2 separate regions of the Homo sapiens genome follow, and region 1 is linked to region 2. Evidence: promoter capture Hi-C in human tissues and cell types (Jung and others, 2019). All regions are on one chromosome and are shown on one strand. Each heading gives the region's core, a stretch centred on a gene start or on the middle of the fragment in contact. The rest is flanking DNA. Distances are from core to core; before and after follow the strand shown.

Region 1 (7,575 bases), core at 580-3,079, 120 kb before region 2:
GGAGCTGCAGAGAGATAATCCTGGGGGTGCACAGAGGGTCCCCCAACAGTATCCAACATAATATTGACCAGCACAAGTCTATGAGGAGACTGCCTGAGGCCAGCCGAAAAACCACCTGAAAATCCTTGCAGGAGGAGTGTGCAGTGCTGACCCAGGGCAGGGGATGAAGCCTGTTCTCGTCAGCCAGGTGCTAAACCTTATATTCACAGTGCCTTCAGCAGAGCACTCAGAAGGCCTCAACTTAATAGCAGAGAATAATTAGTAATAGGCTGAATATTACTCAGCTACTGCCTAGCAAATGTAAAAAGCTAGACCATATCATACTATTTCCAAGTAACTTAACTGCTTCCAAGAGGAAAGCTCAAAAATATTTCTAGAAATGCAAACATATCCAGCACCCAGAAGGTAAAATTTACAATGTCTGGGATTACATTAAAATTTTCCAGGCATGAAAAGAAGCAGAAAAATAAAATCCACAGTGAGGAGAAAAATCAATCAATCTAACCATTGCAGAACTGACACCACTGTTAGAATTATAAGGACAATACAAATAATTATTATAATTGTATTTTATATATTCAAAGAGTTAAGTGAAGACAGGAGATATTTTAAAAAATTAAATCAAATTCTAACAAATGAAAGCTCTAATATCTGAGATGAAAATGCACTGTACATGATTAATGACATATTAGACCTTGCAGAAAGAAATACGAGTGAATTTGAAGACATAACAATTGAAATTATCTAAATGAAACAGAGAGAAAAAAAGAATTATAAATGAACAAAATATCAGTGAGTCATGGGACAACTTCTAGTGGTCTCATATACATGTAATCAGAATAACCTAAAAAAAAAAGAAACATGAGACAAATTATCTATCTATCTATCTATCTATCTATCTATCTATCTATCTATCTATGTTTGAAGTTGCTGGCAGAACAATCTCCAGATTTAATGAAAACATCAAACCCACGGATCTAAAATAATGAACAAAACCCAAACACAAGAACACATAGAAAATTACATACAGCTCAAAATAATCAAATTTCTCGAAACCAGCGACAAACAGGAAAGCTTAAAGGCAGATAATAGGGAAAAAAAGGTGTGAAGGATCAAAGATAATAAATATAACACATATCATCAGAAAAAGAAATGCAAATAGAAAGATAGAACACCATCTTTAAAGTACTTAAGAGGAAAAGAAATCCCCTTACCCTAAAGTTCTTTGTCCACAAAAATGTCATTCAAAAGCGAAGTAAGACAAAGACTTCTTCAGATATAGAGAAGCTGAAAGAATATGTGTCACCAGCAGACTGGGCCTTACAGAAATATGAAATGAAGTCTCCACACAGAAGGAACATAGGACCGAATTGGGATAGTCACACGGTAACAAAGAATATCAGAGGTAGTAACTGTATGGATAAATGCATCATATACTTTTCTTAGTAGCTAAATCTCTTTAAAATTAAGCAATAGTTTAAAAATAATAATGTAGTGTGTCATTTGTAACATATATAAAAATAAAATGTATGATAATAGCACAAATGCTAAGAGGGAAAAAATGGAAGAACAACATTGTAAGATTCTTATACTACATGTGAAGTGGTATAATACAACTTAATGGTAAAAAATTAAAGATGTATTTTACACATCCAAAGCGATGACTAAGATAATAGCAATTATAAGCATTATGCATAATAAACCTATGAAAGAAATAACAGAATCATAGACAAATAATCTAAAGCAAGGCAAAAACAAGAAAAAGGAAATAAAGAACAGATGGGATAAATATAGAAAGATGGTCGACTTAGAATTAACTATATTCATACATTACATGTAAGTTATCTAAACACAGTAATAAAAATGCAGAAGTTGTTGAATTAGATACAATGTAAGATCTAACTCTATCGCCTACAGAAACACATATTTAAAGACAAAAGTAGGTTAAACATAAAAAGATGAAAAAAGATACATCATGCTTGCACTAGTCAAAAGAAAGCTAGAGTGGCTCTGTTAATAACAGACAAGGAAGCTTTCAAAGCAAAGCATACTACCAGGGTAAAGAAGGTCATTTAAAACAATAAATTAATCAAAAGAAAATGACAATCTTAAATATGCATGTAATAACTGAGTTTAAAGGACATGAAGCAAAAACTGAAAGCACTACAAGGATAAATAGACAAATCTACAATTATAGTCAAGAGATTTTAACCCTCCTATCCTGATAATTGATAGAACAAGTAGACAGGAAATCAGTAAGGATATAAGAGGTTTGAACACTATCAACCAACTAAACCTAACTGATGTTTACAAAACACTGCCTCCAACAACAAGATAATTCATATTATTTTCAAGTCCACAGTGAACATTTACCAAGTGATATAGTTTGGATATTTGTCCCTGCCCAAATCTCACGTTGAATTGCATCCCCCAGTGTTGGAGGTGGTCCCTCCCCAAATCTCATGTTGAATTGCATTCCCCAGTGTTGGAGGTGGAACCTGGTGGAAGGTGTTCGGGTCATAGGGGTGGATCCCTCATGGCACGGTACTGTCTTCATGTTAGTGAATTCTCCTGAGATCTGGTCATTTAAAAATGTGTGGCACCCTCTCCCCCAACCTTCTCTCCTCTTTCTCTCTCTCTTTTGTGTCTGTCTGTCTGTCTCTCTCTCTCTCTCTCTCTCAGTTCCACGTTCCACCTCCTATCATTTAAGCTTCCTGAGACCTCCCCAGAAGCAGATGCTGGTGCCATGATTCCTGTACAGCCTGCAGAACTGTGAGCCAATTAAACCTCTTTTCTTTATAAATTACCCAGTCTCAGGTATTTCTTTATAGAATGCAAGAACAGCCTAATACACCAAGGTAGATTATCTTCTGGGGTGTAACACAAGTCTCAATAAATTTAAAAGGATTTAACTCATACAAGTACATGTTTCGACCACAGTGGAGTTAGATAAGAAGATAATAATGAAAGTTTTTAGAAAATTACCCCCAAATATTTGGAAATTAAATAACACATTTCTAAATAACCCATGGGTCAAAGGAGGAATATGAAGAGAAATTTGAAAGTATTTTCAACTGGATGAAAATGAAAAAGAAGTTCCACCAGGTATCAATTTGCGGGAGGTTGGTGAAGCATTGTTCTGGGCATTTAATTTGCAACATTAAATGCGTATATCAGAAAAGAACAAGTATCAATGACTTCAGCTTCCGCCTTAAGCAACTAGAAAGAGAAAAGCAAATTAAACCCAAAGTAAATAGAAGAAAATAAATTATAAAGATCAGCACAAAAATCTGTGAAATAAAAAACAGAAAACAATAGAGAAAAATCAACAAAGTCATATGTTTGTTCTTTAAGAAGGTCAATCAGAGTGGGAAATCCCTGGTCAGGCTGGTCAGGAGAGAGAAAGAGAGAGAGAGAGAGAGAACACAATTACCAATGTCAGGAGTAAGAGAGAAAATGTCAATAGTGAGCCTACACTTACTAAAAAGATAATGAACAAAAATTATGAGCCACTTTAATGAATAAATTCAATAACTTAGGGGAAATAGAAAAATTTGATTTGAAAGACACAAAGTACCAAGCTCACTCAATAAGAAATAGGTATCTTGGAAAGGCTTCTATCTACCAAAGAAATGCAAATTGTAGTTAACAACTTTTCCACAAACAAAACTTCAGGTCTCGATACTTCAGGTATGAATTGCATCAAACATTCAATAAATGAATAATACAAATTCTTTCAGAAAATTTAAAAGAAAGAAATACTTGTCAACTCATTCTATGGTGCCACCATTTCTCAGATAACTAAATCAAAGATACCACAAGATAAGAAAGTCACAGACAAATATCCATAATGAACATAGATGAAAAAATTCTAAACAAAATTTTAACAGTGAATCCAACAGCGTATAAGAAGTACAGTGCATCATGACCCAGTGGAGCTTAATCAAGGTTAATTTAGAATTTGAAAGTCAACCAATGTAACTTGTGACAAATAAATTAAAAAGAAAGAAAATCCAGCCAGGCACGGTGGCTCATGCCTGTAATCCCAGCACTTTGGGAGGCAGAGGCAGACAGATCACTTGAGGTCAGAAATTGAAGGCCAGCCTGGCCAACATGGTGAAACCCCATCTCTACTAAAAATACAAAAATTAGCCAGGCATGCTGGCAGCCACCCATAATCCCAGCTACTTGAGAGGCTGAAGGCAGGAGAATTGCTTGAACTTGGGAGTGAGCTGAGATCACACCATTGCACTCCAGCCTGGGGGACAGAACAAAACTCCATCTCAACAACAACAACAACAACAACAACAACAACAACAACAAAAAAAAAAAAAGAAAGAAGGAAAAAGAAAAGAAAGAAAGAAAGAAAATCCACATTAATAGACTCTGAAAAATCATTTAACACTATCCAACATCCATTTCTGATTTGTAAATCACATAAAGAGCTTGAATCTAGAATACAAAAAGAGCTCTCGAAACTTAATGATAACAAGATCAGCACCACATTTTTTAAAATGAGCAAAAGATCTGAACAGACCTTTTATTGAAGAAGATGTATGGATAGGAAATAAACACATGAAAAGATGCTTAGCATCAGTAGACATTAGGGAAATGCCAACTAAAACCACAACACGATGTCCTACTAACTGTTAGAATGCTAATAATAAAAAGACCAACCACATAAAGTCTTGGTGAAGAAGTTGGAGGAATAAGAGAGCTCATATACTGCAGGTGGGAATGTAAAATGGTAGACTTTGGAGAAAGTTTGGCAGTTTGTTATAAAAGTAAGCTTACTCCTGCTCTATGAACTTGTCATTTCACTGCTAGATATTTACCCCAAAGAAATGAGAGCATATGTCCATACAGAAACGTTTACATTAAAATTTCATAGCAACTTAATTTGAAAAAGCCATAAATTGGAAATGATACAAATATCCATCAACAGTTGATTGATAAACAAATTGTGTAATATACAGGCAGTGGAATACTAATTGACAATAGAAAGGAGTGCACTATTGATACACACAGCAAGATGGGTGAATCTCAAAATACCTATGTTGAGTGCAAGAATACAGGAAAAACTACATACTATGCCACACAATTCATACCAAATCCTGAAAAATGCAAACTCATCTGTAGTGAGAGAAAGCAGTTCCATGGTTGTGTGGGGATGGAGCTCAGAGAGGAACTGGAGGGAGAGGCTACAAAGGAGCATGGGGAAACCTTGGCATGAAGTTTACCACTTGACTGTGGTGATGCATGGGGATCTACACACATCACAACTTACAGAGTTGTATACTTTAAATATATTTATGTCATGTCAATTGTCATTCAGTAGAGCTGTTAAAACAGCATAAATGAGAGGGTTTGGTGAAGCAGAGGAAACTGCCAGCCACACCCTCATTTCTTGTCCAGATTCTACCCTCTTTTCCTTTCGAAGACGTGAAAGAAGCAGGAGTCTAAGGTGAGGGCAGAGACTGGGCATGTGGGATGGGTTCCCAGCATTCCTCATGTTACCAACACTGCTGGCTCTGAAATGCCAAATAACTTTTGAGACCAAAAGACAGAGCCTTTCATTCCATCATTTGAAATAAGAAGCATAAAGATTTGAATAGCTGAGGGATACATTGGCATGGCTAAGTTTGGCTAAAATAAGAATGTTTTCTACTTTAGTGGAAGGGAGGAATTTTGAGTCAAGAGGATGTTGTCTCGCCGTCACATTGCTAAGAGTGGCTGGTAGAAGGAGAGTTTGAGGACAGTGGAAAATGATTTTACAGTTTTGCCATGTTTCTTTGCATCTTTTTGTTTTTTGGGTGCTATAGAGAAGTGCTGAGCAGAAGCGCTCCATTTAGTCAACGGCTAATCCTACAGCCGCTTAGTGTAGGGCCCAGGATATGGGAAAAAGACTCACAACTGCAGACTGAGAGGGTTTAGAATTGGCTTTCTGCATAAGTTAAGGTGAGACACTGCCTCCAGCTGTAAAAAGTAGAGGTTCTTCTTCAAAGACTTTCCTCCCCATCTAATTAGGAATAAATAGTAACTTCTCTTAGAAGCAAAATTTATTCAAAGACGTGTACTAACATTCTTAAATATCTGCTAGCTGTAATAAAGAGATCAATGTATTTTATGTTCTTAGCTCCCACAATTTAGCCTAAATATTTGCCCTGGCATGCTTATACTGGTCCAAGCAAGCATTAGGTCATAGCTTGTTCCTCTTCCTTATTTGAAGGTGTTTTTACCTTTCTCAGCATTCCACAAGTTACTTCCTCCTTCCCTTGTTCTCCTCTGCCTTTGCCTCTTTTAAAAAGTTCCAAGTTGCTAGCCAGTCAGGACAAATACGGAATGTGAGGTCCTGTTCCAGCCAATGGAAACTGGACACAGTAGTGAGGTGGATGCATCAGGTTATAAATGACCCTGTCTCCTTTTTTCGGTGTACTCTTATGGCAGAACTGCTGGTGAGTGTACCCTTTCTGCAGAAAGTAAAAACGGCCTTGCTGAGGAAATTAAATTTATGTTCAAGTGCTATTTCTTTATGTCACGAAGGAATAATCATTTCTAACACAGCCATCTTTCCCTTGCAGAGTTTTGAGCTAACAACACCACTCCAGGTCAGTCAAGAAGGGACACAGGACAGGGGAAAAGCGCATTTGCACAGTGAGTGGAGAAGAGGGGAGGATGGAAAAGTGGAAAGGAAAGGGTGAAATTTCTGTCCACGAAAAGAGTCTAACTCTGTGAAATATTTGAAGAGATTTATTCTGAGCCAAATATGAGTGACCATGGCACGTGACACAGCCCTCAGAGGGTCCTGAGAACATGTGCCCAAGGTGGTCGGGGCACAGCTTGGTTTTATACATTTTAGGAAGACATGAGACATCAATCAAATACATTTAAGAAAAACATTGATATGGTTCAGAAAGGCGGGACAACTCCAAGGGGGTTTGGTGGGGGTCCTTCCAGGGTACAGGTAAATTTAACCATTTTCTGATTGACAAGTGGCTGAGTTTGTCTGAAGACCTGGGATCAATAGAAGGGAAATGTTCAGGTTAAGATAAAAGATTGTGGAGGCTAAGGTTCTTTTGAAGTCTCATAGTGGCTGCCCTTAGAGACAACAGATGACAAATTGTTTCCTATTCAGACCTTTAAAAAGGTGCTAGACTCTTAACCTCTTCAGGATTGGGAGGGCCTGGAAGAAAAAGATCTTGTTATGTTAATAGAGATTCTTTACAGGGGCACATTTTCCCCCACAAAGGACACCTTTGCAGGGCCATTTCAAGGTATGGCAAAGAAGCATGTTTTGGGTAAAATATTTTGATTTTCTTCCTTGTCTCATCATGTTATGCCAGAGTCAGTTTGGAAAGCAAGTCACGATATATATATATATGGTTAAATAAAATCCATCTGATGAGAATTTATGGTTTGTAGGACATGAGTCCCCAGACCCCTTAGATAGGAATGTGGGCAAGATAAAAAAATCAAGGCTTAGTCCTCACTTCCAATACCCAGAATTGTACGTTATTGATGGTGATGATTTGAACAATTATGGTGATGGTTTAAAAGAGAGAGAGAAAGAAAAAG
Region 2 (7,222 bases), core at 4,418-6,917:
GTGACCATACCGTTTCACTCTCTGCAAACCTCTCTCCTATAACACTCACCGCTATGAAAGGCTACGTTAAATCATAAAGGCTACTTTAGCACCTCCCACCCTCGCCCCAGGAAACTAGCCTTGAATACACAGACTCATGTTTAACAACAACTCCGGGCAGCATGCAGACATAGCAGTGCCCACAATGGCATTACACTGAAGGAGAAGCTCTTTTGAGAGAGGGTCCATTGTTGGCGCGTTCACACGCCTAACCAAGAGACTTTAGGAAGTGTTGTGTATGCAATCAAATGAGAGCTGGAGATAGGCAGGCAGGTGGAGAAACAACTATTTTTGAAGTACTTAAGAGAAGAACTGGGAGCTGCAACCACCAGGCAAATTAAGAAAAAAAGAAATCCTATGTAACCTTTACAATAAAAGGAAAGAGGTACCTTTTTGTGGAAGAGCTGGTGGCCATCAAGCCAAATCCTGTTCCGCAGTCTGCTTCTCACCCACGCAGGGCTCTGTCTGCCGTGGAGAGACCATCGCACGTGCTGGTCACAGTTCCCTCTGTGTTTCCATTCCATTCACCCCTACCCTCTGGCGCCCGCACTCCACCAGCCCACTATCCACAGTGAGTGAGAGTCGAGAGCAGAACAGCACGAGGGAGCAGCCACTGCAGGCTTTCCACAGAGCACAGCTCTGACTGTGGTTTCCGTGGGGAGACTGACAGAGAAGCCCCAAGTTACCAGGAACACCCTCTTCCAGCTCTCAGAGGTAATTCCTCTGAAGACCGAGCTCTTCCCTGATGTGTTGGGACCAGACTTACTGGTTACTATAGAGGCTGCAATTCCCTTCCCATCGAGCCCTGCTAGACACCACTGCAGTCTGAAAGCAAGGAAAGCTTTAAGAGAATGTCCTGTACCATTCCATCTTCTCACAACACAATACTCCTTACAGTAAGACTAAAATATTCCCCCCCGCCAACTTTTCCAATAATCACCACGTGGGGAGCAGAGATTATTTTAAAAGAGGTACATGGTAGGAAAATTTTCCTAGCAGAACAGCCTAATACAGCAATGCTTATCACTCTTTCTCTATCTAATAAATAAGCATTCATGCATTCTTTCTAGTTTTATAACACCTGGCTTACATTTTCTCTGCCATCTCTGATTACTTCTACAGATACCCTGAGGACTCATTATGATGTCAAAGCCAAAAACACTTCCATTGTAGAAACATGCATAGAAAAATCACTGTGTATGCTTGAACAATGCAGGTGTGAAAGAAACACAGAGAGAAGAGAGGGTGGCAAAACAGACAAACAGGGACCAAGTTAAAGAGAGAGGGGGCAGAAGAGAGAGAAAGGAAAGTGGAGAGAAAGAGAGAGAAGAGACAAGACACAAAGATATTACAAACAGAACCACATTGCATTGAAATAGCCCACTGATGGAAAAAATGGATAGCTGTTGCCTTTAAATAATCTAATATCAGAAAAAATCATGCAATAAAATACTATAAAAGTAGAATATTTGTATTATTTCATATGAGTTATGGTCACTATAGGCAATATTTTAAATATTGGGGTGGTATGTCAATTTAAAATATCTTTTTCATACCAGCAACCATGATATGTAGATATGACACTGCCCCCAACCACACACACACAAACACAAACCTACATCTATTTACTTCTTCAAGTTTGTGGTATCTTTTGTCTTCAGTTTTGTTTGGAAGAAATGCAGATCAATGTCAGGTGTTGTGTTGTGGTACAGAATACAGTATGATGAAACTTAGCTTGGTGAAAAATATGTTATTTGCAAGTTTTTGTTCAAGTTTATCCTCAGTTACTCCTTTCTAAAGAATACTACACAACTTTTCAAATAAAAAAGAAGATATTCAAAAAAAGAACTCTTAAAAACTTGAAATAGGAAAATGCATAACATCATTGCGCTCAAATTACGCTATGGAGTAATTAGATTATAAAAATTTACCAAAACTGTAGATCTCTCTTTCTGAGTCTACCATTCATTTGCCTCCTGAACAGAGTTCTGGTGAGACTTTGCATCAAGGTAGACTTCCTGGCAAAGGACAACATGCATTGGAAACACTGGTTATTGATTGAAAATTATAGCCCTGGTCTAAAAGGGACACCCAGCCAAACCAAACTGTAAGTGCAAAGCAGAGTGGTCATTATCAAAGAGCATCTGACTAGTCCCTCTAATTCCACAGAGGAGTTTTTTTTAATATAAAATATTTAAGGGTAAATAAACCTTTAAGTTGTTTGAAGTTAAAATGTATCCACTAAAATATATAACAAGTAAACAAAGTCTTTCAGATTGTATATTATGTATTTCTAAAATAATGTCTCTCCCTCAAATTAAATTGGCTTACAGGTAGAGTTGGAAATCTAGTTTATGCATGTGACTTTGAAAACATTATTTACTTGACAAAATTAATTTTTCACAGAGAAGTAATTGGCTTTTAAAAATTATAAATGTAAAGTATTTATAAAAGCAGCTGAACAAATAATCAGATTATTAACTCAATTTTTTAATTTTAAGTATAATTGTAACAAATAGAAAAACTTTACAAATCTTTGAAATTGCATAATCACTTATTTCTTTTCCCTAATCTATTAAACATTGACACAGAAAGCAGACAGAAAACATCAGACAGTGAAATAATTGGGTATATTCAAGAGTAAGGTACAAAATAGAAACATTTTCAAGAGAGTAAAAAATAAATAAATAAATTAGGTGAAAAACATAACAGGGACAGTGAAAACAGCATATTAAAGAAGTCTCATTCTCTGAAACTATCCACATAGTCCTAAGGTCATGCTTTGACAGCTTTTATAACCCCGAAGAAGACTAGGTACTCATATTCCTTTAATAATTTTTGTACACCACTCATATGTGGTCACAAATCATTGGGCCTTTACCTTGATCTCAGCTTCTAACACAAATTTGTGAAATTGGCATAAGTTCTGCTGTTGGATGCAAGTTTAACTCAAGAGAAGTTGAAATTTGTGTGTCATGCATACTTTCTACCTTACTGTGACACCAGATAGTCCTGGTGCATCTTTTCAAAGATGAATTTTATTAATAATTACATGTATTTGGATAAAATTTTCCAGTTGAAAAGTAATAATGTTTACAATTTTCCAACCCACAACTATACATATATACAAGTAATTTTTAACATATTGATATGTTTGAATATTTGGAAATAGAGTAAAATATGTGTATAATGGCAGATGGAAAGTCTTTACTAAATAAAAATGTTCAAGTATAGATATCTTTGCTGCCACCATCTTCAAAACATCCAAATGTGACCATGAAGGCTTCTCCTACTTCTACCTCAACTAGCACAATCATTAAGGTGATGAAAGTGAGCCATTTTCACATTGCCAATAAACTAGGAGGAAGTCAGTCACTGTTGAATGCAATCGCTATCAGCTGCGGACAGCTCCTGGTGCTGAAAGGGAAGGCAGAGAAGCCTGCTCACAATAGCTCACTCCACCAGCCTTTGAAAAATCACAGCAAAACTGAATGAGGTGGCAAGTGCTCAGCCTGAATAGCACTGTCTACAGAACAATGGCAGCCAACTCTAAATCCTACTATAATCACATTAATGAGATTAATCAGTGAATTAGCAGCAGTCAAATGTCAGGGAGGCAAGGAAGAATCCAACCAAGATTGGTAATTAACTTTTTGTGGGTGGGGGTGGGGAGGAGAGAAAAATCAACTGTGCTATCTCATAGGTTTTTTTAGATGTTGATAATTTTGATTCACGAATCTGAAGACTATATGTACAGATCAAAAGACAACAACATAATCCTTCATATTATAATATAGATCCAGATCTCATATTACTGATTCTTATAGTCCTCTGAGAAAGCTGATGTCACTTTAAATAATCTTCATAATCTATCAGAATTTTATTGTTTTAAATTCTTTAAATGCACAATTAATATTTAAAATAAACTTATTTCTCTGAAAATCAAGCTAAAATATAAAGAAATATGGCTGATTAAAAGCAGAAGGATTATATAACAACTGTTATTGTTTATGAAAAGTGTATGATAGTATGGTAAGAGTTTTCAAAGTGCAATCAAGTAAAGTACCATCACACACACACATCAGTAGTGGTCTATGTTAGTTAATAAAGAAAATTTATCACTCAAGTATAACTTTAAGGAGACTTTTAAGCAATTAACTTACTGCATTTGAGGTGATAGAATCATACATGTTCTTTTAGGTCAATCAGAAAAAACAAACTTCCTTTTTTTCTGGAATGTTTCTCTTAGTAGCATTTATAACTTACAATCAACACTTTGGATTCAAAGTTCTTGAGAGGTGAAAACTTATAGGAATGCAATGCTGTTTTTTTTTTTGAAAAGGAATATTTTATAAAACTCTTTTCTTTTAAAAATAATTACATTTTTATCTGTATGGGAGACATGACTTTATTATTTTTAAAGCTACATGACACTAAATGAAGATGAACAATTAGAAAGACCCTCATATGCCAGTAAGGGTGGTTTTGGGATGCTTTGGTCTATGACGTTAATTTTGTTTAGTAGAAAATATAAACATTTGAACAAAAAGGCTCTTATATAAAATAGTTTTACTCTAAGTAACTTAGAAATTATTTAGCTTATATAGCTTTGATGGTACAAGAAATTGTCATGGTTAATACTAAATTCAAAATCTGTTCTCTATATTTTATATAGCTAACTTTCATATAAATATTTACATATATATTTTTGCTTTATTCAGATCTATCTTAAAACTAAAGTGTAGAGTTTAATCTTTTAGTTTATTAATTTAGGTGTTACAAAAAGACATATTTCTGTTATAAATAACATTTTCTTTCATTATTATGAACTTCAAACATTTAAGTTAAATTTAAAAATCTTTATTTGAGTTTCTCCACTTAAACAATATAAATCAACTTTCTTCTTACCATCAGGTAAATTCATCCAAAATAGCTAACATTTTAATTGCCTTTGCATAAAATGATGTGCTTCATTTGTAATGTAAAGTAATCCAGTAAAGTCTCTGGGAAGTTTTTGTTTCAGTATCCTCTTATCCTCCAAACACCATACATGCACCCCGTTTTGTTTTTGTTTCTTTTTTTCTTAATAAACAACATCACAGTTAAGTCATGCAACCTAATACCCATTTTAGTTTAAAGACAGATTTTTTTGTGGATTACAAAGCCTCCAGTCCAGGAACATTTCAGCTACCAGCCATGCTGTAAAAATAACTTTAAAAAGGAGCAGACAATGGAATAGCAGCCTCAGCCCTTGAGCTACGGTAAAACACATCCTGCTCACTAAGTTCCCCGAAAAATTAACCTAACGAACATCACGTACCTCACAATGACCACAACCGCTCACAAGCGAAAGACAAGTTCAATTTTGGTAACTGTGCTGGCTCAAAATACACAGACAGGGAAGAAAACCCTGTTCCACCACAAGTTTGAAAGGATGATGAGACACATGCATGCCACCAAGACGCAGAAAAGGTGGCTTTTTGTCTTCAGTGAGTATGGATATCATAACCCATAGTCCAGGGAATGAAAAAATTAAAATGCACCCACCAACAATGAGCAAAAAACCCGGGGTGCTTCAACAAGACTGCAGGGAAAAGCTCTCTCACTGTTTAGTGTGCAGTAGCTTAGGGAAAAAAAAAATGTCGCCCGGGCAGGAATGACAAATGCAGCGCGATAGGCTCGCAGGCCTCAGGGATCTGTTTGACTTCCACACACCCCCATGCACACGCTCCCACTCATCCTCTCCTAGGCTTTTTTTTTTTTCCACATTTTTTTTTCACAAGCTCCAAATCCCCGGCATATGACCTTCTGTTAAATAGATAAAAAAAAAAATTGCTTATCAGTCATGCAAATGAGGCTGAATTCATTTTCCACAACAGATGGCCTCATAGATAATGATGATGGAAGAGAGAAAATTGAATGTCTCTCACAAGGTGGCCATGGCAACCGAGAGCAGAATAATATCAATAATAAACTCACTGCATAATAAGGTTGTCAGTCCTACAAATCAAAGTCTCCAGCTAAATCAGGTATACCACCCCAGCTAGTTACCAGGTAAATAGTACACACACACACACACACACACACACACACACACACTTCCACAGAGTGGCTTGAAATCTTTCATGGTCACTGTAAAATGTGTACGTGTGTGTGTCTGTTGGTGGCAAGAAGGGGTTGGGGGAGAGAATAGTTGGATAATGAAATGACAATGTGACTTTTTTCTTTTCCTTTCCTTTCATTATGTTTTCTGCAATAGACTCGGTTTCATGCAGGACCTTCTAACTAGCCATATTGAAATCGGGATGCGGTGCTGAAGGCTTTCTCTCCTCCCTCTGCCTCCGCGCTCTCGCTCTGATGTGCTGCATTGATGCAATAGCAGCTCGCCTCAGGCTTCCACCTTGGCTCCCAGGGGGACATCCTGCAAAATGAATCAGCAGCCATCCTGAGCAGGCTGATTAAAATGAAAATGGCAAGGCACATGTCTGGGCGGAACTGGAGCTCAGCTTTGCTGCTTGTCTGGCAAGCATGCTCAATATAGCTCTTGCTAATAATGGCTTACTGCCTTTCATTTTTTAAAAAGGTATCACCCTTTTCCCCCTTCACTGACTGGTGTTGTCTGTGTGTGTGTGTGTGGTGTGTGTGTGTGTGTGCACGTATGTGTGCGTGCATGTCGCGGGGGGAAACGAGAATGGATGGTTCTATTCTTCTAATTTTCTGCTGCTCACATGCAGACTGCCTGCCTGACAGCACCATTATTTTAACACTGAACTTACTTCAGCTTTTCTTTTGGGACAGGGTGGGGGGGCGGTTGATAAGTCTTGGGGCAGAAGGGCTAGTTTTAAAATCAAGCTGCCTAAAAGGCCCAGACAAGATTTTTACACTCCAGATTCAATAATTTCTAACCAAATCTGAAGCAACAGACCTCGAGAGAACTCCGATGCTCTGCTTCACAGGCTCACAGTTGGACATGCTGAAACACAGCCTATGAAGAAACCTATTTCTGTTTCGAGCATTTGCAACCAGCCTGTTACTGTATCCTAGATATTATGCAACACAGAGAATTAAAACAGAGAAAGCTACTAGCTAATAAAATAATCGAACACAATTGAAAAAATAAATCTTGGATATTTTGTTGTTTAAAATTCTCAGGCATAGCTTCAAGATTGCCCTCAAATAAGCT

The links. The method cuts DNA at HindIII sites, captures the fragments that hold promoters and counts their contacts. A contact is called where the count stands out against the background at its distance.
Region 1: a fragment that was not itself captured here is called in contact with the fragment with the promoter of MYT1L in region 2 in 2 of the 25 tissues and cell types used here (IMR-90 fibroblasts and aorta).

The regions. Positions count from the first base shown.
Region 1 is chr2:2,213,386-2,220,960 of GRCh38, forward strand. All of the region lies in intron 2 of MYT1L (myelin transcription factor 1 like), which reads right to left. Among named protein-coding and RNA genes, the nearest start is that of MYT1L-AS1, 100 kb to the right of the region's middle. The HindIII fragment of the contact is 3,840 bases long and covers 1-3,749 here.
Region 2 is chr2:2,325,608-2,332,829 of GRCh38, forward strand. MYT1L (myelin transcription factor 1 like) reads right to left here and starts at 5,668. Exons shown (of 25, transcript NM_001303052.2): 1 at 5,360-5,668. MYT1L-AS1 (MYT1L antisense RNA 1) reads left to right here. Exons shown (of 2, transcript NR_024468.1): 2 at 1-1,501. The HindIII fragment of the contact is 11,173 bases long and covers 96-7,222 here.